3 separate regions of the Homo sapiens genome follow, and regions 1 and 2 are each linked to region 3. The links are contacts of gene promoters, found by promoter capture Hi-C in blood cells and fetal thymus (Javierre and others, 2016). All regions are on one chromosome and are shown on one strand. Each heading gives the region's core, a stretch centred on a gene start or on the middle of the fragment in contact. The rest is flanking DNA. Distances are from core to core; before and after follow the strand shown. Region 1 overlaps ZC3H12B (zinc finger CCCH-type containing 12B). Region 2 overlaps ZC3H12B (zinc finger CCCH-type containing 12B). Region 3 holds the start of AMER1 (APC membrane recruitment protein 1).

Region 1 (3,715 bases), core at 764-3,263, 1.3 Mb after region 3:
TACAAAGCGTTTTGTGTGGTTTTCAAAAAACAGTGTATTTTGCAAGAGGTGCTTTGTAATTTTAATTATTTCACTGATTTTCTGACCTCATAGGAAGTCTGTGCCTGTTGAGGCCTTCAATTTTGTAGCTTTTCTGATTTTTTTTCTTCTTTTTGTGATTTTGTTGTTGTTTTCATTTTGATCTAAAGGAGAAGTGTGACCCCGGAGTGGCATGGTCAATCCAGGGCACCCTTTCTGTAAGACAACTCAAAGGAAAAGAAGCCTTTTCAAAGGTAATATCGAGCCATTGCACTCTCTCTTAAGGTGCCAGGTATGGGAGAATGACAGATGCCTTATGGAAATGGTCTACAAAACTTTTCTTCTTCTAAGTAATAAAACACATAGCATGATTCTCTCTCCCTCTCTCTCTCTCTCTCTGCCCACCCCCTGCTAGTTTCCAGGAGAATACTTCTCTAAAATTCATTTTTTTCTATTTTGGAATAAATTATCTTTATACAGTAATTCAAACACTGATTTCCATTAACCTTTGGCCCTGAGTTTTCTTCTAACATAGAAGAGTTCATTTTGAGAGGCACTCAGTTACCATTCAATCTGTGCTGTAAGTATGGGACTTTGTACAAATGCCCTTTTTGAGGGCCAAAAATTTCAATACACTTTGTTCTACTTTGTGAACCAGGTCTGGATCTGCACAGAGAAAGTAATGCTGAGCTGTCCAAAGAGTCCGCTCAGGTCTCCCTCCTAACCCTCCTCTGCCTTCCCCTAGTTTGCTTATCCTCACGTCTGACACTGAGGAGTGCATAGTCTTCAACTGAAATGGCACTACAGTTAGTTCTCATTGGAAACAAACAAGTGTATTTCTGGAACCTGCTCGTCTAAAATAGTCAATGCCTTTGTAAAGACTCAGCATATTCAATATCTATTGTATGGTAGCTAGCTATATACATAGATTGACTATTTTTAGTCCTGGTTTGTGTATTGTTGAGCTATAGTAGTTTGCTTTATCCATTTGTGGGATTAAACAATACTGTTTAATGGTTGTAAACTTTTATAAAATCTCTTTGGGTTTTTTGTTTGACCCAAACATAATGTAAGTCTTAATGACAAAATACACAAAGTTAACCAGAGGTGAGTGAAAATATAGCCCTTCCCCAGTTTTGTCTGCCCCTATAATGCACGTGCATTGCTTTGTAATATGCTCTCGCTAGCATGAATGTGCTATGACTACTTCATGAGGTTTTGTTTCACCTATAATTGTGATGGAAAATGCTGTATTGCTGACAACAATGAACTGTAACCACAGTTATTTACTGCATAAACTATTTGTGTACTAACCACTCATGGCTCTGTTTCTTTAAGAATACCAACAACAATGGGCCGGGCATGGTGGCTCATGCCTGTAATCCCAGCACTTTGGGAGGCGAAGCAGGCGGATCACCTGAGGTCAGGAGTTGGAGACCAGCCTGGCCAACTGGCGAAACCCTGTCTCTACTAAAAATACAAAAATTAGCCTGGTGTCATGGCACGCACCTGTAATCCCAGCTCCTCGGGAGGCTGAGGCAGGAGAATTGCTTGAATCCAAGACTTGGAGGTTGCAGTGAGCCGAGATCATGCTACTGCACTCCAGCCTGGACGACAGAGTGAGATTCCATCTCAAAAAACAAAACAAAGAAACAAAAAACAACAACAACAAAAGCCATGCCACACATACATATACATATACTACATATACTCTAGTTTGCTCCTAAAGTATTAGATTTATGTCCTTGCGACTTATATTTTGAGATTAAAAACTATAAAGGCAGGGATTTCCCCAAATGTGTTCATCTGAATTTTACCACAGTAAGTATATGTCCTCAAAATTTTGAAGACTAACAAACAGTTCCAAGTGCTAATCGAACTGGTGCTCCCCGCAGGGCAGGGCTGGGCCTGCTTTTGCCCACCAGTCAGAACCAAGTGGCGGGCCCAGGGCCCAGACTTAATTTTTGTACGCAGCCTGTAGTTTCTCCCCTGAATAGCCTCAGGTCCAAAAATACATCATCTGCTGTCTCAGCCAGAATATCAGAGCCAAAAGGAGCCTACTATCCTACACTTCACACTCAGAGCGCTCAGCTGCATCAACCCCTTCAGGGTATAGTGCGTGAACTGAGGCTCCAAGAGCACTGAAGAGATTTGACCAAGGCCAAACAGAATTAGTGGCAAAGGCAGGTACTGGAAGCCCAGGCCTCATGACTCCCAGGCTGGTAAGCCCTTTATCATAGTGGAGTTGGTTCTTCTTCTCTCTGAAGCCTCCTACCCACCCTCCACCGCACTCCAGGCCAGTCTCATTCTAAAGGTAGAGGTAGCCATGATGGTTGCAGCAGAGCCCAGTCTACGAGCCTTTAGAAGAGGCTATTTGTGAATCTGAGAATCTTTTTTTGTTATCATCCTCCACAGGACTAAGAGTGCTTATCTCTCCCCACCTTTTTCCTGTTCTGTCTCTTACTCTTCCTGTCACATTCCTCGGGCATACATGTATCAAGTTCTTACTGAGTACGGGATAGGGGTCTGGCCTATACTAAGCTAGGCAGGCAGAAGAGGAATAGTCCATCTTGGGGAACTTGCACTCAGGGGGGGAATGAAGCACACTCAGAGAATAAAGTAAGACATTAAGACTTCCTTGGAGGGCAGTGGCAGCATGAGGGTAAAGAGAGTGGTAAGAACAACTAGAATTCCAAGACGGGACAATCAACAAACATCCAGTGCTTCTGCCCTAATCTCAGGTGGAAAATGAACTAGTCTGGTCATATCCCTCTCCACCTCCCCTCAGGCCTCATGTAATACCAAGTCCTTCATATCACCATGTTCCAATTATCCTGTACCCTGCATTGGTGCCCCCAACCATGCTTTCTCAACCTCTCCAGACTTTGACCTTCCTTCTACTCCTTGTTCTGACTAGTAGTCTTGCCTTTGAAGACCCAGTGCCAATTTCACCTCCTCTATCAAGCTGTCCAACCCCCGGTCAAGCTACTGTTAGTCCCTCCCAACAGTGGGCCTTGTAGGAATATTGAGCAATACCTCTTAGCTCTTGTCACTCACTTTGGCACACCGTCTCTACCACAAAACAGGGAGTTCCTTGGGCACGGGAGCCATGTTCTTTGCCACTGATGAATTACCTATCGGGGGGAATCTCTGAATTACTGTTGTTGAACAATAAGATAATCTATGCTCCCTTTCCTTGACCCCTATCCCTGTTTCCCAGTTAAAAGAAGTGTGCATTTCAGGCTGGGGACGGTGGCTCACACCTATAATTCCAGCACTATAGAGGCTGAGACAGGAAAATCACTTGAGGCCAGGAGTTTGAGACCAGCCTGAGCAATACAGGAGGACCCGTCTCTACAAAAAATTCAAAAAGTAGCCAGGTGTGGTGGTGAACACCTGTAGTCCCAGCTACTCAGGAGGCTGAGGTGGGAGGATTGCTTGACCCCAGTAATTGGAGGCTGCAGTGGCCCATGATTGTGCCACTGCATTCAAGCCTGTGCAACAGAGCAAGACCTTGTCTCCAAAAATAAAAACAAAAATGAAAATTGTGTGCAGTTCAGACTTTCTAATCAGTCTCTTATCTCTAATCAGAAAGAAAAGGTCCATGGGCACTAGGCTAAGTAAGGTTGCTTCCTGACAGCTCCACTCCCCACCCACCAATCCTTGCCATCTGAAGCCCTTCAACCTGGCCTCAGAA
Region 2 (3,564 bases), core at 445-2,944, 1.2 Mb after region 3:
CATCAACACCACCCAGGAAAGCATAACCTCACCAAATGAACTAAATAAGGCACCAGGGATCAATCTTGGAGAAACAGAGATATGTGACTTTTCAGACAGGGAATTCAAAATAGCTGTGTTGAGGAAACTCAAAGAAACTCAAGATAACACAGAGAAGAAATTCAGAATTTTATCAGATTAATTTTTCAGAGATTGAAATAATTTTAAAAATCAAGCAGAAATTCTGGATCTAAAAAGTACAACTGGCATGCTGAAGAATGCATCAGAGTCTCTTAATAGCAGAATTGATCAAGAAGAAAGAGTGAGCTTGACGACAGACTATTTGAAAATACACTGCTAGGGGAGACAAAAGAGAAAAGAATATAAAACAGTAAAGCATGCCTACAGGATCTAGAAAACAGCCTCAAAATGTCAAAGTTAAGAGTTATTGGCCTTAAAAATGAGATAGAGGAAGAGATAGGGGTACAAAGTTTATTCAACAGGATAATAAAAGAGATATTTTCAAACCTAGAGAAAGTTATTAACACTCAAATACAAGAAAGTTATATATCTCCAAGCATATTTAACTCAAAGACTACCTCAAGGCATTTAATAATCAAACTTTCAAAGACCAAGGATAAAAAAAGGATGCTTAAAGCAGCAAGAAAAAAGACACAAATACAATGGAGCTGCAATATGTCTGACAGCAGACTTTTCAGTGGAAACCTTACAGGCCAAGAGAGTGTGACATGACATATTTAAAGTGTTGAAGGGAAAAAACTGTTACCCTAGAATAGTATATATGGCAAAAATTCCCTTCAATCATGAAGGAGAAATAAAGACTTCCACAGACTAACAAAAGCTGAGGGATTTCATTCATAAGAGACCTGTCCTATGGGAAATGTTTAAGGGAGTACATCAATCAGAAAGAAAAAGACATTAATGAGAAACAAGAAATCATCTGAAGGTACAAAACTCATGGGTAATAGTAAGTGCACAGAAAAAAACACCGAATACTTCAGTGTTATAATACTGCAACTGTGATATGTAATCAACTAAAATGCTAGCTAGAAAAACTAAATGATGAACCAAACAAAAATAATAACTACAACAACTTCTTAAGACATAGACAGTACAATAAGATCTAAATAGAAACAAAAAAGTTAAAAAACTTGAAAATAAAGTTATGGCATAGAATTTTGTGTTAGTTTTCTTTTTGTTTCTTTATTTGTTTATGAAAACCGGGTTGAGTAGTTACCGGGTTATAAGATAGCAGGTGCAAGCCTCACAGTAACCTCAAACAAACAACAAAAAAAATTACAATGGAAACAGAAAAACAAAAAGCAAGATAAATCATATCACCAGGGAAAATCGCCTTCACTAAAGGAAGAAAATAAAGAAATAACGCCAAAAAACAAATAACAAAATGGCAGGAGTAAGTCTTTATCAATAATAATGTTGACTGTAAATGAACTAAAGTCTACAATCGAAATAAATAGAGTGGCTGAGTGTATTAAAAACAAGATTCTGTTGCCTACTAGAAACACACTTTACCTATAAAGACACAAATAGATTAAAAGAAAAGTGATGGAAAAGACATTCCATGCCAATGGAAACAATAAATGATCAGGAGTAGCTATACTTATATCAAACAAAATAGATTTCAGGACAAAAACTATAAGAAGAGACAAAGAAAGTTACTATATAATGATAAAGGGGTAAATTCAGTAAGAGGATATATCAATTTTAAATATATATGCACCCAACACTAGAGCCCCTAGATAAGTAAAGGAAACATTATTAGAGCTAAAGAGAGAGATAGTTCCCAATACAATAATATCTGGAGACTTCAACACCCCACTCCCAGCATTGGACAGATCGTCAAGACAGAAAATCAACAAAGAAACATCAGACTTGATCTGCAGTATAGATCAAATGAATCTAATAGATACTTACAGAACATTTTATCTGTTGGTGGCAGAATACACATTCTTTTCTTCAGCACATGGATTATTCTTTAAAATAGACCATATGATAGGTCAAAAAAGTCTGAAAACATTCAACAAAATTGAGATAACATCAAGCATCTTCTCTGACCACAATAAAATAAAATTAGAAATTAATGATAAGATAAATTTGGGAAACTATACAAACACATGGAAGTTAAACAATATGTTCCTGAATGACGAGTGGGTCGATGAAACAATTTTTGTAAACTTCTTAAAACAAAAGACAATGGAAACACAACATACCAAAATCTATGGGATACAGCAAAAGCAGTACTAAGAGGGAAGTTTATAGCTGTAAGTCCCTACATCAAAAAAGAGGAATAACTTCAAATAAACAATCTAATGATACATCTTAAAGAAATAGAAAAGCAAAAGCAAACCAAACCTAAAATTAGTAGGAGAAAAGAACTAATAGGCTGGGTGTGGTGGCTCACGCCTGTAGTCCCAGCACTTTGGGAGGCCGAGGCAGGCGGATCAATTCAAGTCAGGAGTTTGAGACCAGCCTGGCCAACGTGGTGAAACCCTGTCTCTACTAAAAATACAAAAATTAGCCAGGCGTGGTGACAGGTGCCTGTAATCCCAGCTACTCTGCAGGCTGAGGCAAGAGAATCACTCAAACCCAGGAGGCGGAGGCTGCCGTGAGCCAAGATAGCAGCACTGCACTCCCGCCTGGGTGACAGAAGGAGACTCCATCTCAGAAATAATAATAATAATAAAATAAAGATTAAAACAAATAAATGAATTTAAAATGAGGAAAATAATACAAAAGATCAATGAAACAAAAAGTTGGTTTTTTGAAAAGTAAAACAAAATTGACAAAACTTTAGCCAAACTTACTAATAAAAGGAGAGAAGATTCAAATAAAAGCATTAGAAATGAAAAAGGAGACATTACAACTGATACTGCAGAAATTCAAAGATCATTTGTGGCTATGATGAGCAAATATATGCCAATGAGTTGGAAAATCTAGAAGAAATGGACAAATTTCTAGGTACATACAACCTATCAAGATTGAACCAGAAAGAAATCCAAAACCTGAACAGACCAATAACAAGTAATAAGATCAAAGCCATATTAAGAAGTCTCTTAGTAAAGAAAAGCTAGGGACCCAGTGGCTTCACTGCTGATTTCCACAAACATTTAAAGAGAACTGGTACCCATCCTACTAAAACTATTGCGAAAAATAGAAGAACAGAAAATACTTCTAAATTCATTATATGAAGTCAGCATTACCCTGAAACCAAAACCAGACAAAGACACAACAAAAAAAGAAAACTACAGTTCAATATCTCTGATGAATATCGATGCAAAAATCCTCAACAAAATACTAGCAAAACCGAATTCAATGTTACATTAAAAAAAAAAAATTCATCATGACCAAGTGGGATTCATCCCTGGGATGCAAGGATGGTCCAACATATGCAAATCAATCAATGCGATACATCATAGCAACAGGAATGAAGCATAAAAACCATATGATTATTTCAACTGATGCCAAAAAGCTTTTGATAAAATTCAACATCCCTTCATGATTAAAAAAAAAAAAAAGCTCTCATAAAACAGGGGATAGAAAGAA
Region 3 (3,827 bases), core at 214-2,713:
CCTTGCCCATGCCCACGCCGCTGCAGCAGGCAGGCAGAGCCGCAGAGGAAGATGTTTGTGTGTGGAACAAGGCTCGCCTTGACCCCGCGGCCCTTGCCGAAAGCAGCCTGGCCAAACGGAGACCAGCTCTGCGGGGCCAGTCCAGCTGCCGCCTAGGCGCTTGGGCTGTGACGCATGTAGCGGGCACAGCCCCTCACCACCGGGGGAGCCAAGCAAAGTCCAGCGTTCGGGCGGTCACCAGTGTCAGAAGTGTCTCCAGCAGACAATGACAGGGGCCTGGCGGGCTGGGTATGTTAAGTAACTGCGAAGTTGGAGGGTTTGGCCACCTCGCTAGCTCTCCTGTACACAGAGATGGTATGATACGTTCCGTACTACAATGAGGGCTCCTTCGGCCTCTGGCAAGGAAATGCCCCCCAAACACCGTGCCTATTGCTATTTTTAAACGGGAGGCTGGAGAGGAAAACGCGGCCAGTATCCTCCAAGGGAAAAGGAGGTGAGGCGAGGCGAGGCGGGAGACAAAGCGGCCTTGCAGCTCTAACTCAAGGACTAGCTTGCGCCGCTGCTCTAACCCAAGGACCAGCAAGAGCCCGGCTGCCAGCCAGCCTGCCCGACCGCGGGGGCGGGCGCCAGATGCGCCCGGAGGCCCAGGAGGAGGGGCGCGGCTAGTTGGGGCCACAAGGCCAAGGTTCTGAAGGGAAGTGTGCGACTGAGCTCAGCCCACAGGCCCAACTGAGCTCCTCTGGGGAGGGGGCAGTCTGTGGATGTCCCAATCCACGCCAAAGCCGGTCTCCGTCGGGCCCAAGCCAGCACGCCAGCTTGAGTCCGCAGAAAGGAGGGAGAGGCTGGAGATGCACAGGGGAGGGGAGGGGCGGCAGCCAGGCAGCCGGAGAGAGGGGTGAGCGGTACCCGCGTTACACAGCTGTTCCAGCAAATGTGCTACAACAAAGCTGCAGAGCTCCTGGCCTACAAATGCATGGCTTGGGGTGCTGGCTGGCGGCGCCCTTCCCGGGACTGTGCGGCAGCACGTGCGGGCCCATCCCCGCCCCCCCGAAAGCCGGGAGGCTTGGCCCAGGCTAGCCTGCCTTCCTACCCGCCCTCCCCAACCCCCCTCCCCCCAGCCGTGGTCGCTTGTGCCCAGGGGACTCAAGGCCGCTCTGCCTCTCCACCCGACAGTCCGCAAAGCGGGTTCCAAAGGAGAGGGGCGAGCGACCGGGACTCCGACCCGCCTAGTCCTTAGTGCCCTCCTCCAGTCCGTAGGAGCAGAGCACGCGGGAATGCACCCGACCGCGGGCAGGCGGAGGCTCCTGGCTGTACGCAACGCTTACCCAGCCCGGTCAGGTTCCTAGCCCGGTTATTGTCCGCTGAGCCGCCCTGGGCCGGGCTGCAGCCTCGGCTGCCACGGCTGAGAGCGCCGCCACCGCAGCTGCTGCCGCCGTCGCCGCGGCTCCAGTCACCTCCAGCACTGACTCCCCTTCCCCAGGCTTTGGGTAGCTCCCCCATACCCCCTCCCCCAGTACTCCAAGGCCACCGGGTGGGGCATCTGCGTCCTGATTGGCAGGCATATGGCCCAATCGCTATGGTGGGAAGGCGTGCCCCGGCCCGCCCACTGTTTTCCTTGGTGCGTTTCTCTTTAAATGCAAATAAGTGCAGGCGTGGTGTTGGCAGGGGGCGGAGAGGGTGCGGAACCACTGGCTGGGGCTCCCCACTCCCGCCCCCACGCCGGGCTGGTAGTGGCGTGGCTACACCGTGGCCTCAAGGAGCCAGTCCTGCCCGGATGGGGCTCGCCGGATCGGTTTCGGTTTTCACGCACTCCCATTTCTGTGGCCGCTGTGCATTCGCGGTACTGTGCCCTGGCCGCCACCAGGACGTTTATTCCTGAGCTAGAGGCCGGCGGGGAGTAACGAGGCAGAGAGGTTGAGGAATCTGGGAAGACTGCAGAAACCTAAGGGCCGGCCTATCCTTAGTCGTAGAGACAAGGCCCTGCGGATCGCGCCGCCAGGCCACCCAGAGGAGGGACTCACCTGCCAGGAAAGCTAGCTGCAGCGCCTGCGCCCTAACTTCGTCCGCCTCTCTGGCACACCAGTGCCCTTAGAGACCATAGAGGCCAACTTCCACCCGTTACCGACGGGCCCTCTGCTGCCCAGAGTGGGGAAAGTCCCTCCCCACAGTTACCCAGCCTGCCGGCGACAAGGGCCAATTTGGAATCCAGAGCCCCGGGCTCCCTTTCCAGGATTGCTTTCACTTTTCTTCTCTGAGATGATACCTGTTTCCATAGTTTGACCCTCACCCAAATTTCGCACCTTCTATGGAATGTGGAGGGAATCCCCAAGGTCTCCAGAGTCCCCCTTCCCCCATCCTTTGTGAGCCTGGCTTTCGGCAGGCCTTTTTCCTTGAAAAGTCTAAATATTGAGAGGAAAATCTTGTCTGGGCCCAAACCGGAGGTCAGGCTGAGGACAAAGTGAGGAGGCCTGTACCAGCCTTGTCTGCTACTGTGTGTGGGATGTGGCAGGGAGCCCGGCGAACTTGGGTCTCTAGCCTAAGGACATTAAGTGGCATCAGTGGCTGCCAGGGCCAGGTGAGCTGAGGCAGCAAAGAATCTAGTTCCACCACTAGTTCAAGAATATCCAGAAGGCCCAGCCCTAAAACTCTGTGTGTGTCTAAAAAGGGAGGTGGGTGGATTAAAGCTGAGGATAGAGAGAAGGATTAGAGAACAATGCGTGCTATTTTTGCATTGCAGGAGTGTTCTCTGCTGCTTCTGGGTCCTGACAGTCTTGAAAAGATCCAGCTGCTGAACTGGTAAGAGGTGGACTGCTGCCTCTGCATGTGTAGAGCACAGGAACTGACATGGCTGCTAGGGATCTGACTCTAGCTCTACCTCAGACTTGCTGGACACCTTGGCCAATTCATTTTTTTCTCTGGGCCAGGGCATCACCCCACCTCCACAAGGAGAGGGTAAGCATCATCAGGCTCCCTTGATATCTTTGAGATCTGACAGTTCAACTCATTTTTTTCTATAATATTCCATGATCTTCCACGGAATATTATAGAAAATATAGATGTTCCATGACCTTCCATGGCATTCTATACATTGCCAACAAAAATCAATATTGAACATCAGACTCCCATCCTAGTACTGAGTCTAAATAAACGATGAGGAGTAGGGAGCTGCTGCTGGCTCATTATGCAACTTTTTTCCCATCTGGATGGCTGGACTATAAAAGTTTCCCTGGGGCTATGCTTTCCTGCTTTGCAAAGTCCTGATTCTCATTTGTGGGCCTGATTTGGAAGTTTATTTTCTTTTCCAGAATCTCCATTATAGACTTCCTCCCTACCTCGTGCCTCTGGTCACTGCCACTTGCTCACATTTCACTCAGAACCTTGATTCTTTGAATTAGACTAAGATTATGAGAAGGCAGTTTGCAAACCTGGGGTCCAGGGAAACAAAGGGCCAGAGCAGTCTCAGTTGTGGAAGCAGGGAGAGAGGAGGTGTGCAAAGTAGTCAGGTGGCAGGCTTGAAATAGTCCCAGGCACTATTGTGCTGCTCCTGTCACAGGGGCTAGTCTTCTATGCCTTCTGCCCAGCCACCAAACATTCTGTCACACCAGTCAGTTTTTGGAGTGACTAGTGTGGGAGGAACAATTCGTGAGAAATTGAGCTAAACCCAAAAGAAATGGGGCTTCAGGAAAAAAAATATTCTTTGTGATCCTAGAGAACTCCCAGCTGAGCACCCTTCTTTATGGTCCAGATATTACTGAGTCTTGGGAGGATACTGTATGTGTGTATTAAAGGGGAAAAGATGTGGGAGGGGACAACACAGCTTCTTGTTT

What was found. The method cuts DNA at HindIII sites, captures the fragments that hold promoters and counts their contacts. A CHiCAGO score of 5 or more calls a contact.
Region 1: a fragment that was not itself captured here is called in contact with the fragment with the promoter of AMER1 in region 3 in 7 of 17 cell types (naive CD4 T cells, naive CD8 T cells, total CD8 T cells and 4 more); the score reaches 7.9 in naive CD4 T cells.
Region 2: a contact is called between a fragment that was not itself captured here and the fragment with the promoter of AMER1 in region 3, in 1 of 17 cell types (total B cells). The highest score is 5.1, in total B cells.

What each region holds. Positions count from the first base shown.
Region 1 is chrX:65,506,554-65,510,268 of GRCh38, forward strand. It overlaps ZC3H12B (zinc finger CCCH-type containing 12B), which reads left to right. Exons shown (of 10, transcript NM_001010888.4): 10 at 1-1,334. Among named protein-coding and RNA genes, the nearest start is that of LAS1L, 26 kb to the right of the region's middle. The HindIII fragment of the contact is 4,163 bases long and covers 1-3,715 here.
Region 2 is chrX:65,402,936-65,406,499 of GRCh38, forward strand. The region is part of intron 5 of ZC3H12B (zinc finger CCCH-type containing 12B); the gene reads left to right. Among named protein-coding and RNA genes, the nearest start is that of LAS1L, 130 kb to the right of the region's middle. The HindIII fragment of the contact is 3,588 bases long and covers 1-3,488 here.
Region 3 is chrX:64,204,245-64,208,071 of GRCh38, forward strand. AMER1 (APC membrane recruitment protein 1) reads right to left here and starts at 1,464. Exons shown (of 2, transcript NM_152424.4): 1 at 1,326-1,464. It overlaps LOC112268307, which reads left to right and starts at 1,702. Exons shown (of 4, transcript XM_047442706.1): 1 at 1,702-1,840; 2 at 2,738-2,796. The coding sequence starts at 1,775. RefSeq lists silencers at 571-630, 1,611-1,710 and an enhancer at 1,841-2,000. The HindIII fragment of the contact is 4,951 bases long and covers 1-3,827 here.